Linked DNA regions of Homo sapiens: regions 2, 3, 4, 5 and 6 are each linked to region 1. Evidence: promoter capture Hi-C in 16 types of primary human blood cells and fetal thymus (Javierre and others, 2016). All regions are on one chromosome and are shown on one strand. The core of a region is centred on a gene start or on the middle of the fragment in contact, and the rest is flanking DNA. Distances in the headings are between cores, read along the strand shown. Region 1 holds the start of SLC1A3-AS1 (SLC1A3 antisense RNA 1). Region 2 overlaps NIPBL (NIPBL cohesin loading factor). Region 3 overlaps NIPBL (NIPBL cohesin loading factor). Region 4 overlaps NIPBL (NIPBL cohesin loading factor). Region 5 overlaps NIPBL (NIPBL cohesin loading factor). Region 6 has its middle 10 kb from the start of NIPBL-DT.

Evidence for each region. Contacts are between HindIII fragments. The CHiCAGO score rates a contact against its expected background, and 5 or more counts as called.
Region 2: a contact is called between a fragment that was not itself captured here and the fragment with the promoter of SLC1A3-AS1 in region 1, in 9 of 17 cell types (naive B cells, total B cells, megakaryocytes and 6 more). The highest score is 9.2, in naive B cells.
Region 3: a contact is called between a fragment that was not itself captured here and the fragment with the promoter of SLC1A3-AS1 in region 1, in 12 of 17 cell types (naive B cells, total B cells, naive CD4 T cells and 9 more). The highest score is 13.8, in naive B cells.
Region 4: a contact is called between a fragment that was not itself captured here and the fragment with the promoter of SLC1A3-AS1 in region 1, in 4 of 17 cell types (naive B cells, total B cells, neutrophils and 1 more). The highest score is 8.0, in naive B cells.
Region 5: a contact is called between a fragment that was not itself captured here and the fragment with the promoter of SLC1A3-AS1 in region 1, in 5 of 17 cell types (total B cells, naive B cells, monocytes and 2 more). The highest score is 10.7, in total B cells.
Region 6: a contact is called between a fragment that was not itself captured here and the fragment with the promoter of SLC1A3-AS1 in region 1, in 16 of 17 cell types (naive B cells, total B cells, megakaryocytes and 13 more). The highest score is 23.1, in naive B cells.

What each region holds. Positions count from the first base shown.
Region 1 is chr5:36,723,116-36,726,943 of GRCh38, reverse strand. SLC1A3-AS1 (SLC1A3 antisense RNA 1) reads left to right here and starts at 1,756. Exons shown (of 2, transcript XR_007058736.1): 1 at 1,756-1,830. RefSeq lists enhancers at 2,759-3,028, 3,069-3,118, 3,129-3,178. The HindIII fragment of the contact is 5,384 bases long and covers 1-2,372 here.
Region 2 is chr5:36,973,261-36,977,088 of GRCh38, reverse strand. NIPBL (NIPBL cohesin loading factor) reads right to left here. Exons shown (of 47, transcript NM_133433.4): 9 at 687-1,313. Among named protein-coding and RNA genes, the nearest start is that of NIPBL, 98 kb to the right of the region's middle. The HindIII fragment of the contact is 839 bases long and covers 1,470-2,308 here.
Region 3 is chr5:36,955,481-36,957,980 of GRCh38, reverse strand. NIPBL (NIPBL cohesin loading factor) reads right to left here. Exons shown (of 47, transcript NM_133433.4): 3 at 2,344-2,500. Among named protein-coding and RNA genes, the nearest start is that of NIPBL, 80 kb to the right of the region's middle. The HindIII fragment of the contact is 3,389 bases long and covers 1-2,500 here.
Region 4 is chr5:36,904,790-36,908,617 of GRCh38, reverse strand. The region is part of intron 1 of NIPBL (NIPBL cohesin loading factor); the gene reads right to left. Among named protein-coding and RNA genes, the nearest start is that of NIPBL, 30 kb to the right of the region's middle. The HindIII fragment of the contact is 4,614 bases long and covers 1-3,828 here.
Region 5 is chr5:36,886,427-36,890,254 of GRCh38, reverse strand. The region is part of intron 1 of NIPBL (NIPBL cohesin loading factor); the gene reads right to left. It also overlaps the pseudogene KRT18P31. Among named protein-coding and RNA genes, the nearest start is that of NIPBL, 12 kb to the right of the region's middle. The HindIII fragment of the contact is 2,684 bases long and covers 672-3,355 here.
Region 6 is chr5:36,864,597-36,868,424 of GRCh38, reverse strand. No RefSeq gene overlaps it. Among named protein-coding and RNA genes, the nearest start is that of NIPBL-DT, 10 kb to the left of the region's middle. The HindIII fragment of the contact is 172 bases long and covers 1,662-1,833 here.

The sequences.
Region 1 (3,828 bases), core at 507-3,006:
GCCTCAGGGCCTTTGCACTGGCTGTTCTCTCTGCTTGGACCACTCTTCCTCAAGATAGCCACATGCCTCACTCCCTCACCTCCTGCACTCTGCTCAAAAGTCAACTTCGTAGGGAGTCCTGACTTGACCACCCTAATTTAAATTGCACTTCTGATTTCACTTACTTTGCTTTTTCTCTCCATAGTGATCACCTCTTAACATATTACAAAATTTTCTTAATTTTTTAATGTTTATTGCCTATCTCCTGTTTCACGCTCCTTCTTGCATCCCTGAATGTAAACTCTGAGAATAGTGAGGTATTTTTTGTCCTTTTTGTTCAATAACAAACACTCAGTGCCTAGAATAATGCCTTACAGGAGTGCTTTATAAGCATTTGTTGAATGAATGAATGAACTAATGAATGAAGTGTAATACAAGGGGCAAAGGATTTGGCATCCTTTGGTCATGGAGTGCTGCTCAGATATGTACTATAGAAACCATTCTGAAGCATTTCAAAAGACATCCAGTTTCTCCTCTGTATACTGCAAAATCTTGGGCTTAGGTTCTGGCATTTAGTCTATGACAAATGATTGCTGGCAAAAGTTGAATGAAGCAGTTAAGAGTATGGGTTTGCAGTAAGATCCAGGTTCAAATTTACACCTTTCCATGTACTACCTGTGTGACTTTGGTGAAATTATCTTCTCCAGGCCTTAGGGTGAAATGTATGTGAGAATGCATGAAGCCTGCCACGTGGTTAATATTAAGAGTGATAACTCATATTATCATTGATGGAGGTGAATGAAAGAAATGGAGTAACACGCTTTTAAAACACAGTTTCCCCTCCATTATCATTTCAACCACTTTAGATGAAAATATTGAGGGATACATCCACAATTTCTAGTTAATTAAAAAATATCAGGAGGTCTTAGTAGATTCTAGATTTTTCCTTCAATGAAATGAGTTGTTAAATAAAAGGCCTCCATAAGTACAGGGTCTTGTCGTTGGGCTCTATCTTATGAGCGGTGGATCTGCCTCCCAGGAAGGTAGGCAGACACCAGTGAGGCATCTGGTGCTTGGGATGCAGCGAGTGGAGCCAAGCAGAGAATGATCAGATCCGTTTGCCTGGAATTTCTGCATTTGCTGCCCCAAACATCTGGAGCCAGGCTACCCAGTGCAGATGGAAAATAGCAAAATGCAAATTCCCTGGGTTCAGCTGAGGGAAGCCAAGGCAGACAGAGTCTGAGAAGGCGGATGAAAGGTGAGCCAAAACAAAAGCCCTGGCGGGTGGTGGGGCAGCGTTTTATCTAGAGCCTACGGCCCCCGGTAAGGACAGGAGATGAGAGAAGGGACCTTAGAGCTACTTGGGCCACCTTCATGTTCGTACTCATCCCCCTCCTTAACAGCCTGAAAGGGAGCCTGCTGGGCTTACGGCAGCCTCCCTGTCCTCTTCCTGATGCCATGCCTGCTCCATTGCTTTGCTTCTTCTGGATCCTGTTTCGCCCTCTCCCTCAAGAAGGAGATCCTGAAATAGATCCTGAGTCAATGACTCAGGTGCAAGTGCTTTATTAAAGAAAGGCTCCCAGAAGAAATCTACTTGCACCCGAATCATTGACTCAGGATCTCCTTCTGGGAGAATCCAAGCCAAGACAAGACAGACAACCCAACCAACTGAGCTGCTCACAGCTTCAACTGCTACAACCCTGGAAAGGATTCTGATTGGCTAGCTAAGGGTCACATGCCCAAATGGGCCTTTGATTGGCAGCTGTTGCTTCCTTCCTACTCCCTCCCACACACCCAGGAGCTCCAGCCTGTTATGGGATGGGCATCCTACCAGGAACCAAGGATGCTAAGGTAAGCAGTCCTTGCCCTCATAGGTTTACTTATACTTAAGGGGAGAGAACCGTTAGTCAAATCACCCCACATACAGATCTTTACACACTATGAAGGACAAGCACAGGGTGCAGTCAGTGGGAGGGGCCCAGAACGGGAAGTGCCATGCTGGCTGCTGCTGTGTGGAATGGGCTGTAAAGAGAGCAAGAGTGAAAGCCACAGCAGGGGAGCTGGTCAGAGATGGCAGTGGCTTTATTAGAGTGGTGGCCCTGGAGTTGGAGACAGGTGGGAAAAACTCAAGAGCCCTCTAAGGAACCGACCCATGGCAGTCCATCGCCACCAAGTCCCTCTTACCACTCTAGGTTTAAAGAAACCCAAAAAACAAAACTACGTTGCAACTGCACTGCTACACCAGGAAACCTAAGGGGGAACAAAAGAAAACTTAGTAGTGCCCTCTAGGCTGAAGATTTGACCTATTATTTACTAACCTTTCCCTCCCTCTTCCTTATTTTCAACAAATCTCCTGCCATCCATTTTGAATTCTTCTCTAAATAGAGAAAGCTTTCTTTCTCAGCTTCATTTAAATGTCCACCATGGTATTTACCCATGTTTTCTTGATTTTTATTTCTTTTTGGGGCGGGTATCTAAAAGATAATCTGATCCCTGTTCCTGATTCTGTAGGTGACAGAGAGAAGTGGTTTTCTCATTTTTTTGTGTGTGAAATTATTCGCATATGAGGAAAAGATAGCTCAAAAATAGAAGCTCTTTCATTATCTCTCCACAATGTAGTGTGGCCCCAAGTGACTATTTTGTGGAGACACGGTAATTTGGGGTGGCTAAATCATTACCCCGAGGTGTGTCAGATGCTGCCAAGACCTCCTTCATTCATGTGGCCAAGACTGTGGGCTTCCTGGCTGGGGAGGCAGAGGCCCTGCTCTTCTGCTGCTAACCTTGGGGTCAGCGAGCCCTGATCCACACTTCCTCTGGGCAACATCAATGGGGCTGCTGAACATATTGAGCCAGACTTGTTTCCAAGAGATAGAAGGAACTAGAGCATTGGGGAAAGTCCCAAGTAACTCTAGCCCTCAGCCACCTGCTGTGGCTGAAGATGAAGTCTCTGCAGCTTCAAGAATCCAACTGGCTGGTGCACATTGTTCTCATTGGCTAGATCATTCCTCCATGTAGCACTTCACTAAACTCATTAACAAATATTTACAAATGACATTGCTTTTTGGGGTCATGTATATTTCAGTCTTCAGAATCCATCAGGCACTCAAATCCCTTGGCAGTTCTAGTTCTCTCCCCTAGACATGCCTCTGCCCCCTACTACTCAGTTCCTTTTATTTCTACCATTCGTTTTTATTTTCTATTTCATTTCTTTACTTTTTAGAGACAAGGTCTCTGTCACCCAGGTTGGAGTGCAGTGGCATGATCATAGCTCACTGCAGCCTCAAACCCTTGGACTCAAGTGATCCTCCTGCCTCGGCCTCCTGAGTAGCTGAGACTACAGGTGTGTTCCACCACATCTGGCTAACTTTTGTATTTTTTGTCAAGATGGGGGTCTTGCTATGTTGCCCAGGCTGATTTCAAACTCCTGACCTCAAGCTGTCCTCCAGCCATGGCCTCCCAAAGTGCTGCCTACCATTATAGGCTGCCATGCCTGGCCCTTATTTTTTTTAAAAAATGATCTTCTCCCTTCTATGTAATTCCTATTCTACCTGTATTATTCTTCTTTCCCTGTATTATGCTCGTCCCTTGCTCTTCTTCTCCTCTCCCTTTCATTTTAACCACTCTTCCATCTCCTGCTACTGCATGTGAATCAGATTTGCCCTCCAAATACCGTGTGTATCACCATCAGTTCAGTGGCAGAGGCTGTTCTTGCGCTGGCTTGGAAGATGACAGTTCCCAAAGTATTCCCCATAGAGGCTGATCGGTCTGACCCAGCTAATGCTACCAGTTAAAATAATCCTGGCTCAGGGCCCATGAGACTCACCAGTCCTTATGTGGTATTGGAAAGTG
Region 2 (3,828 bases), core at 640-3,139, 250 kb before region 1:
CTTACTATGAATTTATTTTTGTTTGATTATGAAGCGCAAGGAAAGCTCATAAACTCATAGACCAGGTATGTCTTGAAACTCCATCCTAACATACTAGTCAGACAAAAGGGAACACTTCACTGTAATTACCACCAAAAGACTCTTAATTTCTAAGGTTTGCTATTTAATATTAACTCTTTCCATGATTTGTTTACTAAAAAAATTTGACATTATTAAGCCAGTAGGATCATAAACCAAGTGAAATATCTAACTGCCTAATAAGCATACACATGAGCTTTTCTTAAGTGTACCTGTTCAAAATAATTCTACAGTGGTTAACCTTGTTTTAGCAGAAAAAAATTTGAAGGTGCACAACAATATTAATGTAACTTGTGAAATATACATGTTATATAGAAATGCTAATGTTCATTTTAGCAGAAAAGCACAAATAAGTAAAATCATATAGTACATAATGAGTAACAGACCTGTAGTAGAGAATTACCAAATCTCATATAGTTGTTTCAGACAATAAATGAAATTGTTACGAATTTAACTTCTGCATTATGAGTATTAGTAATAAAAATATGTACTTGAGTAGACATAAATTATACAAAATATTCGGGAAAAAAGTAATGTGAAAAAAATTTTTGACACTATAATTACATATTTGCCCAGATGATGAAGTGGTAATAATGAGATTATTTTACCTTTATCTTGAACTTCTTTTGAGAAGCGCTCCCTTTCAATAGCTGATTCTCTCTCTATTCGCTCAATTTCAGCCAATGCATCCAATTCCACTTCATCATATATAGGTCCCTGTTGTGATATCTGTTGTTGATTCTGTACCACAGAAGTCTGGGGTTGTTTTGCAGCAACTGAAGTGTTCTGTTGTAAAACAGGCACTTGATTTGCTGGAAGGAATGCTGTTTGTTCTTGCTGCGACAAACATTGAGCAGCATTTAGTGGGCGGTTTATATCTTGTGGAGTAATGGGTGTTTTTGAAGTCTGTCCTGGGTACTGCACATTAAAAGGAATATCATTTTCTGAAACATTGCTATTTTCCACACCAGAAATCATATCCTCTTGCTGGTCCATGTCTGAAGACCTTACACGAGAAAGTCTTAATGTAAGTTTAGTAGAGTCCTTGGATGGAGAACTAATTATATCATACATTGCCGCTTTCTCACTCTGCTCTTTTTCATCCTTGCCTAATTTCATTTTCTTCTGCTTCTTTTGTTTTCTTTCTGGAGAATCTAGCAAGATATCTGGTGGAACATCTCGAGGTGATGAACAAGGTAGAGACTGAGATTGTAGGATTAAAGGTGGTCTTGAGCCTAGAAAAATAATTCGATAGAAGTAACAGTTGTGGTGGTTTCACATTTTCTTACAATGTGATAGAAATATTAATAAGTGACAATATAGTAATACTAGAAAAAAATAAGAAATTATATAATCCAAGCTACTTATTTACGAAAGATGAAAAGAAAGCTTAAAAACTTGTCCCACACAGTTGTTTAGCTTGCTAGTAGTTAATCTAAAATCTAGGTTTGAATCTAAGTATGAGTATTCAATTTTTCAGACCAGTATTATTTCTATATTTTTGTGCCTATAAAGTATACATATTTAGCTTTATAGGGGTAAAAAGTTCATTGCTTCTAAAGATGATACAACACAAATATTTTGGGTATGACCATCTCTGTTCTTTCATGGACTATCTGGGAAAACAGATATATCCTGATTAAAGTAAGAATAAGTACGCTTTTGTTAAATTACACAAAAATAACAATTTAATCCTAGAGACTATCTTACATGAATACTACTGGGATGATAACAAAAAGCAAGTGGTCAATTTACAATTACTAGAGCCTTTACTTACTTCAAAAACTGGTGGTAAAATATTGATTTATACTTTTATGTGGTCTTCTCTTTCTCCCTTAACATCATTCACATACTCTCTTCAGCTTGCTAATCCTCTTTTTATTAGAAAAATAAATAAGTTCAGTAAATTTCAAGGCCCAATAAAATATATTGAGCCCAGAGTCCATTAAATCAACCAATGTTATATGAAACAGGAAAGTGTTAAAAATAATCAGATGGAAAAATTATCCTAGTTAATAAGCCTTCAGACAAAAATTCTCCTTCAGACATGAAGGAAAAAGTGCATTGATATGCTTCAGAAATAATAGTATAACTGCATCTGAATAATGTATACATTTCTTATCACTAAACTATAAAATATTTAAAAACTTGTAAGAAATTGTAAAAATTGGTCAAGATAAAAGTTTTTTTACAGACAGAACTTAAACCTAGAACTGCCTTCAATTAAGCTTTCAGTCTTTTTCCATGATACATAAATCTGGACTTTCAGTTAGCAAGGTTAATGTATTTTAAATGTTATATATAAACATACAACTTTATTTATTGACTCTAGTGTGATAAAGATGATATGGGAGCAATTAACTATAAATGTTAGTCTAACATTTTGTGTCAGAGTTGTGAAAGGTGCTTTACATATCAATTCACTTGATTTTTACAACATTCTTGAGTATTATCTTTAAAATTTTTCAGAAATGGAACATGAAGCCTACAGAGGTTAAGAAATTTGCCCAAGGTTATGTAGTTAACAAACCTGAAGATTTAAAACAAGATTTGTCTAAGTCTGAATTGTAATATACCATTATGCCTTTGTATTTAAATTCTATGTGGCAAATTATATACACTTTAGAACAAACTTCAAATTCTAATAATTAATCTAAAAATCAAGATAGACTGACAATGCACTTACCCTTCAAAACTAGTTAGAAAACAACTTCATGACAGAAGTTCAAGCTTTTGGTGAATAATATATTAGTGAGGTTATTTGTTTTAAAGTTTTCCATTTCTATCTAAAGTTCATCTACTATTTATCTATCTAATCTCAAGAGTCAGAAGAAAAAAAGCTAGTTATCTAGATCAATCACCTATCTCCCTGTTCTCTTTCCCCGGCAATCTAAATAACTTCTCACCTTGACAACACTTGTGGGATATGTATCTAACCTACAAATAGTTACTCTGGAAGTTTTTCTCTCTTTCAGAAGCCGGGTTTTTATCCCTGAAAATTCATACAATTTACAGAATTGAAATGGCTCATAACAGCTCAACTTTCACTCTATGAAAAATGTCCTTGATAGAAAACCAAACACCGCAGGTTCTCACTCTTAAGTGGGAGCTGAACAATGAAAACACATGGACCCAGGGAGGGGAATATCACACACCAGGGCCTGTTGGAGGGTAGGGGGCAAGAAGTGGGAGAGCATTAGGACAAATACATAATGCAGGCGGGGCTTAAAACCTAGACGACAAGCCTGGTGTGGTGGCTCACGCCTGTAATCCCAGCACTTTGGGAGGCCGAGGCGGGCAGATCACGAGGTCAGGAGTTCGAGACCAGCCTGACCAACATGGTGAAACCCTGTCTCTACTAAAAATACAAAAAAAATCACCCGGGCGTGGTGGCATGTGCCTGTAATCCCAGCTACTCAGGAGGCTGAGGCAGGAGAATCGTTTGAACCCGGGAGGTGGAGATTGCAGTGAGCCGAGATCATGCCACTGCACTCCAGCCTGGGTGACAGTGCGAGACTCTGTCTCAAAAGAAAGAAAGAAAAAAAACCTAGATGACGGGTTGATAGGTGCAGCAAATCACTATGGCACATGTATACCTATGTAACAAACCTGCACATTCTGCACATGTATCCCAGAACTTAAAGTAAAATAAAATAAAATTTTTAAAAAATTTTTGAAAAAAAAAAAGAAAAATGTCCTTGATAAATAGTACGAACACAATCAGTGAAAAAAAGATCTTTACCATATGAA
Region 3 (2,500 bases), core at 1-2,500, 230 kb before region 1:
ACGAAGTCTCACTCTTGTCCCCCAGGCTGGAGTGCAATGGTACAATCTCAGCTCACTGCAACCTCCGTCTCCCAGGTTCAAGTGATTCTCTTGCCTCAGCCTCCCGAGTAGCTGGGATTACAGGTGCCTGCCACCACGCCCAGCTAATTTTTGTATTTTTAGTAGAGACAGGGTTTCACCATGTTGGCCAGGCTGGTCTCTAACTCCTGACCTCAGATGGTCTGCCCGCCTCGGCCTCCCAAAGTGCTGGGATTACAGGTGTGAGCCACTGTGGCTGACCCAACAGTTATGAATTTTCAAATATGCTATCCCTGGGAGAAATATAATTATCAAAAATAACAGAGAGGGATTCTTCTAAGGACAATCTTTTTCTTCATTTTACTTTACACAGTCAAGAGAAAAAAAGCCCAAAACACTATTTTATTGAACTATGAGTTTAATAATTTCCAAGTAGTTCTAAAATAGAAAAGAAATACATTCTATTCTAAACTATTCAAAATAATGGAAGGGTAGACAAGTGAAAGTTACACAAAAAGTTGATATTTGGTATTGGAATATATTTTCTTACACCTGAATATGAGTGAGTCTGACTTTCTGGGAATGTCTTACAAATAAGATACTGTTGCCACACTGATTAAGACAAGACCCAGAGGTTATGTAATTTTTCCATCTTACATTGCTTTCTCAAATAATGTCATGGTGCGGGAAAAGCGGAAACCAAACAGCAAATTTCAATACACTTCACAGCAGCAATTTTCAATAAACTTCAATATAAGTAGCAAATTAAATTCATAACCATGGGAGATGATGATAAAATTAAGTATAGGCAGTGTTTTAACTTTATATTATACATGTCAATGTTCTACTCATTGGATCTAACCATGAAGACCTATAAAGATGGTGTCCAATGATAAGACTCACTACATTTCCAGGGCAATCTTACAGGAGCTCTCCATAAAATAAGTCCTTATTTTACGTGTGCTATTTCCTTTACATCTTTAAATATTTGGTGAAAACTACTGAATAAGTATGTACAAGCATAAGAAGTGATTTAGAGGCTGGGCACAGTGGCTCACACCTATAATCCTAGCACTTTGGGAGGCCGAGGTGGGTGGATCACCTGAAGTCGGGAATTTGAGACCAGCCTGGCCAATATGGTGAAAACCTGTCTCTACTAAAAATACAAAAATTAGCCAGGCATGGTGGTGGGGGCCTGTAATCCCAGCTACTCAGGAGGTTGAGACAGAACAATCACTTGAACCCAGGAGGTGGAGGTTGCAGTGAGCCGAGATCGCACCACTGCACTCCAGCCTGGGCAACAGAGCAAGACTCCATCTCAAAAAAAAAAAAAAAAAAAAAAAAAAGAAGTGATTTAGATATTGCTGAATTTTTGGAGTGACAAAATATTAGTAGTATTATACTTCTTTCTGATTTTAACCAATCATTTCTTAGCTTCTCCATTAGAAAATCCATTTAGTAAGTATCTCACCTTAGAGTCATCAGCTTTAAAAATGCCCCAAAAATATGTACCGCATCTAATGTAGATATCTCTCCATTATAATGTGTTTATCCTCATTCCCCTACATGATGAATTTTTAAATTAAAAAAATAAAGAATGCGAGGTTACATGAGTAACATTGTGTGGTGGAATATGAAGGGATAAGAATGAGAGATTTTACTTTTTACACATTTTTGTGTTGTTTGTATAAATATGTATTGGTTTTGCAGTGAAAAATAATTTTTTTTTTCCCCAGACGGAGTCTTACTCTGTTGCCAGGCTGGAGTGCAGTGGCGTGATCTCGGCTCACTGCAACCTCTGCCTCCCGGGTTCAAGTGATTCTCCTGCCTCAGCCTCCCGAGTAGCTGGGACTACAGGCGCCCGCCACCACGCCTGGCTAATTTTTTTTTTTTTTTTGTATTTTTAGTAGAGATGGGGTTTCACCATGTTGGCCAGGATGGTCTCAATCTCTTGATCTCGTGATCCACCTGCCTCGGCCTCCCAAAGTGCTGGGATTACAGGTGTAAGCCACCGCGCCCAGACAGGGATATAGTTTCATGACCAGATCTCTGCACAAATGATGGATCCCCCAAGATAAGTTCAAAAGAGCTGAAAAAATATCCATAGAGCTACATGGGTCAGAATTATTATCTAAAAATAAATATTGCCTACTTAAATCTCATTAATCTATTATTGCAATAAGACTATATTCTCCCTCGGATATGGATATTTTTAAAAAATAAACTATGTATCTAAAAATTTCTGAAATAAAACCAGGAATACGGATTCTCTTAGTAAGGCCAAAACTTTTCACTTATAGTAGATATAAAATTGATCATACTTACATGTGATCTGTTGATACCTGGTTGAGGCTATGGACAAGCTGTGAAACCAAATTGTCATCCCTACAAGCCAAAAGGCAGTTCACCTCTTCTGCTATTCGTGCATTAAAGAGAAGGCTCTTTGTAGTTGTAGCAGGTAAAGGAGATGGAAGAGGCAGCT
Region 4 (3,828 bases), core at 362-2,861, 180 kb before region 1:
TCTGAAATAATACCTTTAAATCTTTCTATTTCTTAAAATCATTATTTCCTTGTGGTACCAATTCTACGTTCCCTGTATGATAACTAGATAATAATTGTACCACATACAGGTGAATTCAATAAATTTGGAATAAGTGGTTGACTTTAGTACTAGGAAAGTTAAAAACAAATCTCAAGACTTGTTTCTAATTTAGGAAAATTCTATAGGAATTTGTCTAAAGAGGGCTAAAAACAAACAAAAAAGCATAAACATCCATAATATGCAAAATGTGGTTTACTTACTTGATAGAGGGCTATCATATGTAAAGTTAACTTTGGTTATTTGCTTTTTTTAAGTTAAGAAGACTTAAAGAATGTTTAAGCAAACACTAAAGCACTCGGTAATCTCATCTCTTTATCCTCAAAAAAGAGTTTTTTCCCCAAAAGATTGTCTTTCAGCATGTAAACATGTTACATAGTGACAGATGGAGTGTGTATAGTATTTTTGTATTCTATTGCCATTAAATATTTATGAATCTTTGTGTTAATCACATTACCTTTCAAAAGGATGCATACTACTACCAGAAATGAACAAATATATTGGTTTTGCTGTGCCTTGTCAGCATTGGTTGTTAGCTCTAAAATACTTCCTTTTGGAAAAGATAGATACCTGCTTAGCTGCATGTTTTTTTACTATTGTGTAAAGCTGTTTACTATTTTACCAAAGCTGTATTTGATTTATTCTTTTCAGTTGTTCATTTACCATTTTTCACTTGTGTGAATTATTCTTTGTCCATCTTGATGATTTTCATTTAAATTGTAAAGTATTTATTTAGTTTAGTTATTATTAACTTTCAGACCTTTTCCTCAGTGGCATTTCTGAGAAGACTAAGGTTTTTAAATTTTTATTGTAAAGGTAACATATGCACATTATAAATATTGTGGACTGCAGATAAAAGGAAAAAGTGCCTGTTATAATCCTGTCACCCTAATGCAACTACTGTATGCTCTGACATTTTCTTCTGGTCTTTTCTAAGTAAATACATTTTAGTTTCAGTCATATTACTCCCACAATGTTTTGTTTTCTTTACTTAAGGTGGGAAAATGCATATAATACTCCCGAAGCTATAACTTTAGTTCCTTTTAGAACTTTAATCTTCACTTGGAGTCTTAAACTTATAAATAAATATTATTTTAATTTCTGGTATCTACGTAACTTTTATTTTTCTTCTTTTTGCTTATCTGAATTTTCCATAATGAACATGTATTACAGTCTTGCAGGGGTGTTGTGAAGATTAAGTGAGAAAAAATATATGGGACTCACCTAACAAAATATCTTACAATTATAAGACCAAGAACAAAGCAGTTCTTTTTGAATAAAGACATCGCAACAACTAAGTCTATATAGGAAATTTAGCAGTCTAGAACCTTGCTGAGAGCATAACATCACCTTTGGGTTTGTTAGAAATGCAGACTCTCAAACCCTACTCCAGATCTACTGGTTCACAATCGCCATTTAACAAGATGTGGAGTAAGAATCTCAGAGCATTGCTTTTAAAACTTGGCTATATATTCACCCGGAAAAACTAAACAAGTATGATGGGATGAGAAGCGGAATCCACATTCTACTAGTCACCATCTGTGCAAAGACATACACCTATGCAAAGACAGCACTACATTGAAAAATTCAGTCAAGTCTAAAGTTACAATGTAGTGTATCTTTAGGGGCTGGGAAGAAGAAACTCCTGTTTCTTGTGGATCTATTTTCCCACATCAAGACAGTGCTTAACAATAATTCCCCTTGAGGAACATATAGATTAAAGTTCTAGAAAATATTTAAAATCTAGCATTCTTCAATTTGGTGCCCTTTTCTCCAATATTCAGATTTAGAAATCACCAAGTATTAATTATATCTTCTACTGAAGACTTAATAAGATAACTAGACTTTGACAAAATAAAAGCTCAGATTGCAACAAAGTCAAGTAAATTCTTTTACTTGATTAAGGTAGTTAGGACAGTCTACACAGTTGATTAAATTTTCACTTCACTTCGTTTTGCAAGTTAACAATCTTAAGCAATAAGTAAAACAAAATCTGTCCTGGTAGCAGAAATAATTTCTAAAAGACATTAGTAGTTTGATAGAAAAAAGGACATATCACTCTTAATGAAAAGACTAATAGAGACAACAAAATGATTTTAACAGGATGATAAATTATGTAACCCCAGCAACCAAGATTATACTTAACACAAAATACATTCTTGTTAAAATTAATGTTAAAAGAGTCCCAAAATAATCATAATATTATTCGTATCACTGTCACTATTTAAAATTGTTGTGGGAGGTCTAAAAATGCAGAATTCCTTTACACATCTTATGTATATTCATTACATGTTATATACTACATATTACATATTAGCTATATTAGATAATGATTATATACTTCATTCGCAGAAATGGTAGGGTTTTATTTTCGGGTTGTTCTCATCCACTGATTTATCATGATGTATTGATGTTTTAGCTACTACTGCTTGAAATGACATTTTAATATGTAGTAAGGCATGTCTGTTTTTCCTTCCCCATTAATATACTTTTCAGGGTCAGGTGCAGTGGCTCACGCCTGTAATCCCAGCACTTTGGGAGGCCAAGGTGGGCGGATCACGAGGTCAGGAGATCGAGACCATCCTGGCTAACACGGTGAAACCCCATCTCTACTAAAAATACAAAAAAAATTAGCTGGGTGTGGTGGCGGGTGCCTGTAGTCCAGCTACTTGGGAGGCTGAGGCAGGAGAATGGCGTGAACCCGGGAGGCGGAGCTTGCAGTGAGCCAAGATCGCACCACTGCACTCCAGCCTGGGTGACAGAGTGAGACTTCATCTCAAAAAAAAAACACAAAAACAAAAACATAGTTTTCAGAATTTTCTTTGACTTTCTTATTTTTTAGATAAATTTCAGAAATATTGCGCCTACCTAACATCTCACTGAAATTTTTATTGAAAATAAATTAAACCAATAAATAATTTATGAATAGGCATCTTCAAAATATTTTCTCTATCTTAAAGTTTTGAAGTTTTTGGTACATGTCACACACATTCCTCATTAAGATTGGTTCAGGAAGGAGAAGTGCAAGGAAAAACTGCACAGGGGAAACCGCCTCACTCACACATGTAAAACTAAATTTAAGAAGGTAGTATATTCCATATTCAAAACACCGATTATGATCTTACAAGCCAACAGTAGTGTTTTCTGCTCAATCCCAAGTCCTAAGCATCAAATAACAATCCTCCATTAGTGGATCTCACTCAAACAGGAAAAAACTCCTGCGTCAGAACCAACACAGAAATGAGAAATACATAGGAAGAGATGAACTGATCCCATGAACACACACATTACAGTAATATTATCTCTTAGTAAATTATTCAAATTCATTGCTTATTACCCCTTTCCAACTAACTGCTGACAAGCTACATATTTCTGTTCTTGACTAATTTTTTTTGGCCAATTTACCCTCTATGCATTAAAAGTTGTAAAACCAACCAACCAACCAACCAACCAACCTCAACTTGCTTCCTGTACTTGTTTTTGTCGAATTTTTCACTTTTGCATCACTGGAATTCTCATACTAATGCCATACTAATTGCACTGTGATAGGCAGCCTTTAAGACAGCCTTCAATTACGCCATCCACCTTGTGTAATTCCCTCCTATTGTGTGTTTACTTCTAACAAATATAGAATATGGCAAAAGGGATGGCATGTCACTTCTGAGATTAGGTTACAAAAAGACTGGCTTCTGTTGTGGTACCCTCTCTTAGTCACTTTAAGGGAAGTCAGCTGCCATGTTGTGAGCTGCT
Region 5 (3,828 bases), core at 764-3,263, 160 kb before region 1:
GAAAAAACTACATATAAAGATGTTCACTGCCTCATTATTTATATAGAAAAAAAGTAAAAGCAAAAAGTATGCAAGAATAGAATGAATAAATTATGGTTCATCCACTGACAAAATACTGGGCAACATTTTAAAGAATTATGAACATTATATAGAAAACTAGGAAAATCTTTATGATCCAACGTTAAAAGAGGAATAAATTTATAGCATTAATATATGTATTTAACCATAATTACATTCATCATAAATATTTTTATGTAAAAATTTAATAGGAAACTTAGTAGGAAAAACATAAAATTTGATATTTTTCCCATTTCCCAAACAGCATGTAGTTTTTTTTTTCACATTGGTTCTACAATTGAAAAAAAATTAAGAAAAGTCTTCAACTTTGAAGCTCTTGAAAATTTTTAAGTTCTAAATTCCACAGTTTAAGCTTAACATATCAGGAAACTATATGTAGTTTTGGCTTCCAAGAAAATAAAGGAATGGATTGTTACTGAATTATAAAATTTTTATAAAACACACTAAAACTGTGGTGTTTATCTTCCAGTTTAAAATATCAGAATCATAAGAAACATATGATAATCAGAGTAGATGGCAATGTGGCTCAACAGCTAGGTAACTAATTATTAGAGATTCAGATACTGAACTTCATACTAGGACAGTTACAAGCTTATTGTAAATTATATGTGATTTTAAATTCTAGTTTTTAGACATCCTCATATGAATACGGAGGACAGTGCAGTGGCACCCTGACATATACTAAGAAACATGAGTAATTGGAAAGATTGAAGAACTGTAAGAAATACCTCTTTCCCAACACCTCCTCCCAGTTCTTAATATGAGTATCTGGATTATGCAGATCATTTTAGCCCCAAGCCTACAATTAGTTCTTTAGCAGTGAACATGGGGGTTCAGAAGTAGAGCCAGAGTGGAAATAAGAGTAGAAAGAACTCAAAACACTTCTGTATATAGATCTTTCTCTTATCCAACTAAACAAACCTTATTGTCCAGATAAAAATAGTTAACTAAATTACACCAATTCTTTGCTGTCAATGTTGTCCACCATTTCTGGGTTTCATGTTTTCTTTCCTCTATAAAACTTGCTCAGTATTTAGCAAGCCCCACCCATCTTCTGTCACTCTAATTAGTCCTATGTCCCCAAACTGAAAATATATTCAAATTCATTTATTCAACAATTGTTTGTTGAGTGCTTACTATGTGCAAGCCACCAAAGGGATCCAATGACTACCAAACTGGGTCTCCCTTCAGCCTTTGTAAACTGCCTTTAGATTGATTCTATTCATTCCAAAATATGGTACTTGGCACTAGAGCAAAATATAGCACATATTACTTCTTTAGTTATAAACTCTAGATATAACGAAGAAAATGCTTGCTTTGTTTTTCAAGGCAGCATTACATTTTAAAATGCCCTTTACAAAAGATGCGCTCAGGATTATTTAAACTAATAATTTCAAGCAGACCCTTTGGCTCAAACTGTGGGCTGGAGGGGTAATTTCTTATTTTAAGGAAGAAATATCATAAAGTTATACAAAACCATGAACATTAATTTCCAAACTCACAAACAAGCAATACTGTTACAACACATCTAACTCCTGTCATTAAAAATATGTGCATGCTTAGCACCTGAATGGTATCATATCCCACAGCATTTCTTTAGTTTTCTGTTGTTTGCAATAAAAGTGAAAATGTTATTTAAGTAAACTTGTTTCCACAGTATAGGAAAGTCAATTCAAAAGTCCTTCCTTTAACTTTCCTTATACATTCCCATTTTCTCCTCTACCCTGCTCCAAAACACATAAACACAAAGTATTGAAATGAATATACAACTCCATGAAATGCAGTATTCTAAAAGCAAGAATGAAAAGATAAAAAATGAGTTAAAAAATGAGTTCAAGTCTTCCAGCTGATAAACTGGGCTGTAAGTCAAAAGTCCTAAATTTTAGATATAACAGAACACAGTCACATTTAGGCTATATAGTATCACTGTTACTAAAGATTACACCTTAATTTTAAATACCAGAGCCCAAGCATAGAAGCAAAAAGTATCCAATACTAAATACATATTACTTTCACAATTACTGCTAAATCTTTCTTAAAATACTAGAAGTTATTAAATCTGAGAAAACTGTATGTTCAGGACCTCTCACAGAATCAAAACATTGGGGAAGGGGTAGATTCAAGTGATAATTCAGGGAAGTGTTACAAATGTCAGAACTGGGTGAATAACTGAACTGGAAGTATGGTAAAGAAGTGTCAAGGATTATCCCAAATTTCTAGTTTAGGTAAATGAGTTGATAGTGAAAACATTAACCTACTTCATGTATTTTTTAATAGTTTTCTTTCTTTGGGTGACAGGTCAGAGTAAGGAAGAATTAAGGGATGAGTTCAGACTTACATACTATGGAATTTCTGTTATTCATGGGACATCAGGAGGTACCTGATAGACAGCTGGATCTGGCTCAGAAGAGAAATATATTCTGGAGATAGATTTGTGAGTCATCAGCACACAGGTAGCATGTAACAAGTCATGTGAATAAATGAGATCAACAGGAAGAACAGAAATAAGTTTGAAGCACCTCCTGGAGAATACAAATATTTAAAGGGGTAGGTAGAGGAGCAAGACCTAGCAAAAGACTTAAAAAATGGGAGGTCAAAGACATAAGCAAACAACAAGAGAATATCCCAGAGATGAAGCTGTTTCAAAAAGGAAAGGGTCGGGGGAGAGGTGGTCGAATAAAATGTCCAGAAAATTACTCTTTTCTCATTATCTGCCCCCAATTTTCAGTAAAGGGCACTGCTTTTCTAACTTTAATCATTGGAAGAGAGGCTGTGACTGTTATTCACTATAATCTATGCTCTTTTTTTAGCACCAACTTACAAACACTAAACCTAAAGCAAATGTAAACTCAAGTTTTTGGTGTTACTGCACCATCCTTCATTTTTTATTCTAGTTTCTATGTGCTGTATGTTCAAAATGCAAGATGCTACCTATTTTAATTATGAAAAAGAGAGTAGGTCTATTTCACATGCTTGGTAGAGAATTAAACAGCATTTACTAATATAAATAAATGCCATATAATAATGTCTATTAGACTAGATTTGGGGGTTGAGGGTTAAACAGGTAAGTAAAATTTGGGGGTCGAGGGGTAAAAATGAGCAAGTAAAATGTTCAATAATAAGGCAGCTGCCAAAATCTGAGAGAAATATCTACCACTGTTCAAAGTACTATTTTTTGATAATACTCTTTCGTAAGAGCTTCACCAAAGTTAACAATTTTAAACTTCAGTCATTGACAAACTACTGATACATAGAACATGAATGAATCTCAGAAGCTTTCTGCTAAATTTAAAAAAAAGACATAAAAGGCTATATATGATTCCATTTTTATGTTCTAGAAAAGGAAAAACTATAGAGACAGAAACCAGATCTAGTTGCCTCGGGCTGCAGTAGGAGCAGGAAACTGATTACAAAGGGATACATGGGAACTTTTGGGGGTAATGGAAATATTCTGATTGTGGTGGTGGTTTTAAGACTGTGTATGTTTGTCAAAACTCATCAAACTGCACACCCAAAAGACTGAGTTTTACTGTATAAATTATACCTCAATACACCTGACATATTAAAAAAATTTCAGTCATCAGATAACTATTTTAACTGAATAGCCTATTTTCCCCCAATGACCTCTGAACATTTTATGGGCCTCCTGCTCCCCAAAGGGTACCCTGCTTCTGCTGACTTAATGTCTCAGAACTTTGGTGTCACTGGTCTCAGACACCACTCTGCCATCCACTATCCAGCGGGTGGTGG
Region 6 (3,828 bases), core at 498-2,997, 140 kb before region 1:
CTCTACTAAAAATACAAAAAATTAGCCGGGCGTGGTGGTGGGCGCCTGTAGTCCCAGCTACTAGGGAGGCTGAGGCAGGAGAATGGCGTGAACCCGAAAGGTGGAGCTTGCAGTGAGCCGAGATTGCACCACTGCACTCCAGCCTGGGCGACAGAGTGAAACTCCGTCTCAAAAAAATAAATAAATAATAAATAAATAAACTCAAAAACCAAACAAAGGCTGGTGAGAAAATAGCTCATTTCTTGTCTTATTCCAGAGTAAGGAGTGGTGACAGATTAGGAAAAGCATCAAAAAAGTGGCTTCCAGTGAACAAAATCAGGAAGTTTGAGTAAAGAATTTCTCTTTTGCTAAAAACTTAAATATAAAAGTTTAGTCAGGAATTTGTACCCACACATGTATACTGCTTTTAACATTTTTCTCTAGACATTTGAAATATTTTATTTTCTCTTTAAAAAAGCAGCACCAAAACCTAAATTTAATAGTAATGTTTCTGATTTATCAGCTTCTTTCCATCTTACACTGTTGAATTCTGTACTGCTTCTAAAGCACCTACAATTAACTCTACAAGAACTGCACAATTAACACTCGGCATTGCCTTCTTCCTAATTCTAACATCGACATTCATCAGCTTTCTCCAATACAGTCAGATGATTCCTTATAATCATATCTAGCCAAATGATGTAACTTTTGCTTGATGTATGGGAAAATAGCTTACATTATGAATTTAGAAGAGCTATAGTAGTATTTGACAATATAGATGGAAAAGTATTTTTAATTTAAAGAACATATTGCACATCTTTCAGAATTTCTGTAAAAACTTTTGAATGTCCATTTTGGCTAGGAGCTTAGAAATGATCATGCTTAAGTTTAATTTTGTGTTTACATTAAATCTTTTGGATTTTCATTCTGTATACAATATTGCTGTAAAACATCATAGTTGTGAAATCTGGCTCTTTAGGAGATGCTTACCATAAAACTGGTTTGAAAACTATTCTGACTACAGTGTAGCTATTACATTCACTAATAAGAATTTAGTATGCCTCTGAATATAAGTAAGTCTCTAATTCCCTATTTTTTTGGAATATTACTGTATTCTAAGAATATCAGAATATGAGCTTCTTAAAGATTTTGAATTAGCATATCCAAATTGACAGATAACATTCTTAGGTGGGGCGTGGTGGCTCATGCCTATAATTTCAGCACGTTGGGAGGCTGAGGTGGGCGGATCACTTGAGGTCACGAGTTTGAGACCGGGCTACAAGGTGAAACCCCATCTCTACTAACAATACAATAATTAGCCAGGTGTGGTGGTGCATGCCTGTAATCCCAGCTACTTGGGAGGCTGAGGAACAAGAATTGCTTGAACCTGGGAGGCAGATATTACCCCACACTCAACAAATAAATATGAAAGAACTTTACTTACAGGATAACATCATGATAAAATTTGCATTTTAGAATAACTCTACAATTAACAATAAAAAGAAGTACCTATAACATTACCCCACAAAAGGGATAAGGTGTGGTGAACTTGGAAATTTCATACAATTTAGAAATATGTATTGAGCTGTAAAAATGTTCATATTCATTGACATAAAACTTTCACATCTGAACTCTTGAGGTGGCTATATATTGCTTTTGTAATTTCAATGAAAACAGAAGCTTGGGCAACTGAATGAAGGAAGGATGGAATGTAAGAGAGGGTGGAGAAAGGTGAATCAATGAGAAAGTTAATGTAACCAGTCAAATGATTTAATAATTTATTTTTTAGCAGCAAATCTCCTTAACAATAATACTTTCAACTTAATAATACTTTCATCCCACATCTAGAAAGCTTACAGCAAACTTTCCAAGTAGTTTGTCTGTTCTCACCCCAAGGTGCAACTCCAATGCAACCCACGCTTGCTGACCATTCTTGCTGCTTCACTTTCATCACTCCTCCATAACACGTTTATCTGACTACCAACCTTCTCATAATATCTATCCACTCACCATTGGTTCCCACCATCCCCACACATTTTGGTTCCTTTAAATCAAGGGTAAATATAGTCTTGATTGTTCATGTCACCTAGTGGTAAGACAAAAACTAGCATGACAGGGTGGAAGTGAAGATTATGCCATATTTCAGAGGTTTACATGTTTTCCAGTAGTGAATCACAACTATCAGAAATCCATATGTATGTGGGCCACATACATTTTAAATTATAACAATAGTAGAATTATAACCTATTAGCTATTCAAAAGTATTTAGTTTTTGGCTGAGGACAGTGGCTCATGCCTGTAATCCCAGCAGTTTGGGAGGCTGAGGTGGGAGGATTGCTTGAGTCTGGCAGTTCAAGACCAGACTGGGCAACATAGTGAGACCCCCATCTCTAAAAACAATTTTTTTTTTATTGGCCAGGTGTGGTGGTGTCGACCTGTCATCCCAGCTACTTGAGAGGCTGAAGGGGGAGGATCGCTTGAGCCCAGGAGGTAGAGGCTGCAGTGAGTCATGATGGCACCACTGCACTCCAGCCTGGGTGACAGAGTGAGAGCCTGTCTCAACAACCAGAAAAAAAGTATTTAGTTTTACAGTATTACAAAGTAGTGTCACATTAGTTTAATGAGGTTTATTTATACAAAGGTGTAAAATTATGGGCCAAGTACTAGCCTTCAAGTAATTTCGAAGTCAGCGAGAATACTGGTATATAACGGATCAAACTTTGTTCAAGAACCAAAGGCTATTGTTCAACGAATGGTGCTGAGACAACTGCAAAAGACTAGGACCCTTACCTCACATGCAAAAGACTGGGACCCTTACCTCACACCATTTTGCAAAAATTAGCTCAAAATGGATCAATGACCTAAATGTAAGAGAAAACCTATAAAATTCTCAGAAAAAAACAGAAGGATAAATTTGTATAACCTTGGATTTGACAGGATTCTTAGCTATGACAACAAAAACACAAGCCTCCAGAAGCAAGCAAACAAAAACACCATAAACTGGACTTCATCAAAATTGAAAACTTTAGTGGTTCAAAAGACACCATCAAGAAAGTGAAAAAATCCACAGAATAGGAAAGATATTTGCAAATCATGTATCTGATAAGGGATCTATGTCTATAATATGTAACGAACTCTTAATAAAAAATAACCCCACTTAAAATGGGCAATGAATCTAAATAGACATTTCTCCAAAGAAGAAATGCAAATGGCCAATAAGTACATGAAAAGATGCTTGACATCACCAGAGAAAAGCAAATAAAGAAACTGCAAGGTTTTCATTCTTCTTCACTTACAAGGCTTCATTCTCACTATGATAGCCAGAATAAAAAAGTCAGATAACAACAATTATTGGCAAAGATATAGAGGAAAACTGCAAACCTTATACATTCTGATAGGAGTGTAAAATGGTGCAGCCACTTTGGAAAACAGTCTGGCAGTTCCTCAAGTGATTAAACATCTAGTTACTATATGACCCAGCAATTCTACTACTAGGTATATACCCAAGAGAAATGAAACCATATGTCCACACAGAAACTTGTACACATTTGTTTACAGAAGCATTATTCAGAATCACCAAAAGGTGGAAACAACCCAAATGTCCATCAACTGACACATGCAAAAGTAAAATATGGTATCCATATAATGGTATATTATGGTATATAAAAGAATGAAGTACTGATACATGCTGCAACATGAATGGATCCTGAAATCATTATGTTAAGTGAAGGAAGCTAGTCACAAAAGACCATATGTTATATGATTGCATTCAAATGAATGGAATATGGAAATCTATGCAGACAGAAAGTAGATTACTGGCTGTTTAAAGCTGAGGGTGGGAGCATGGGT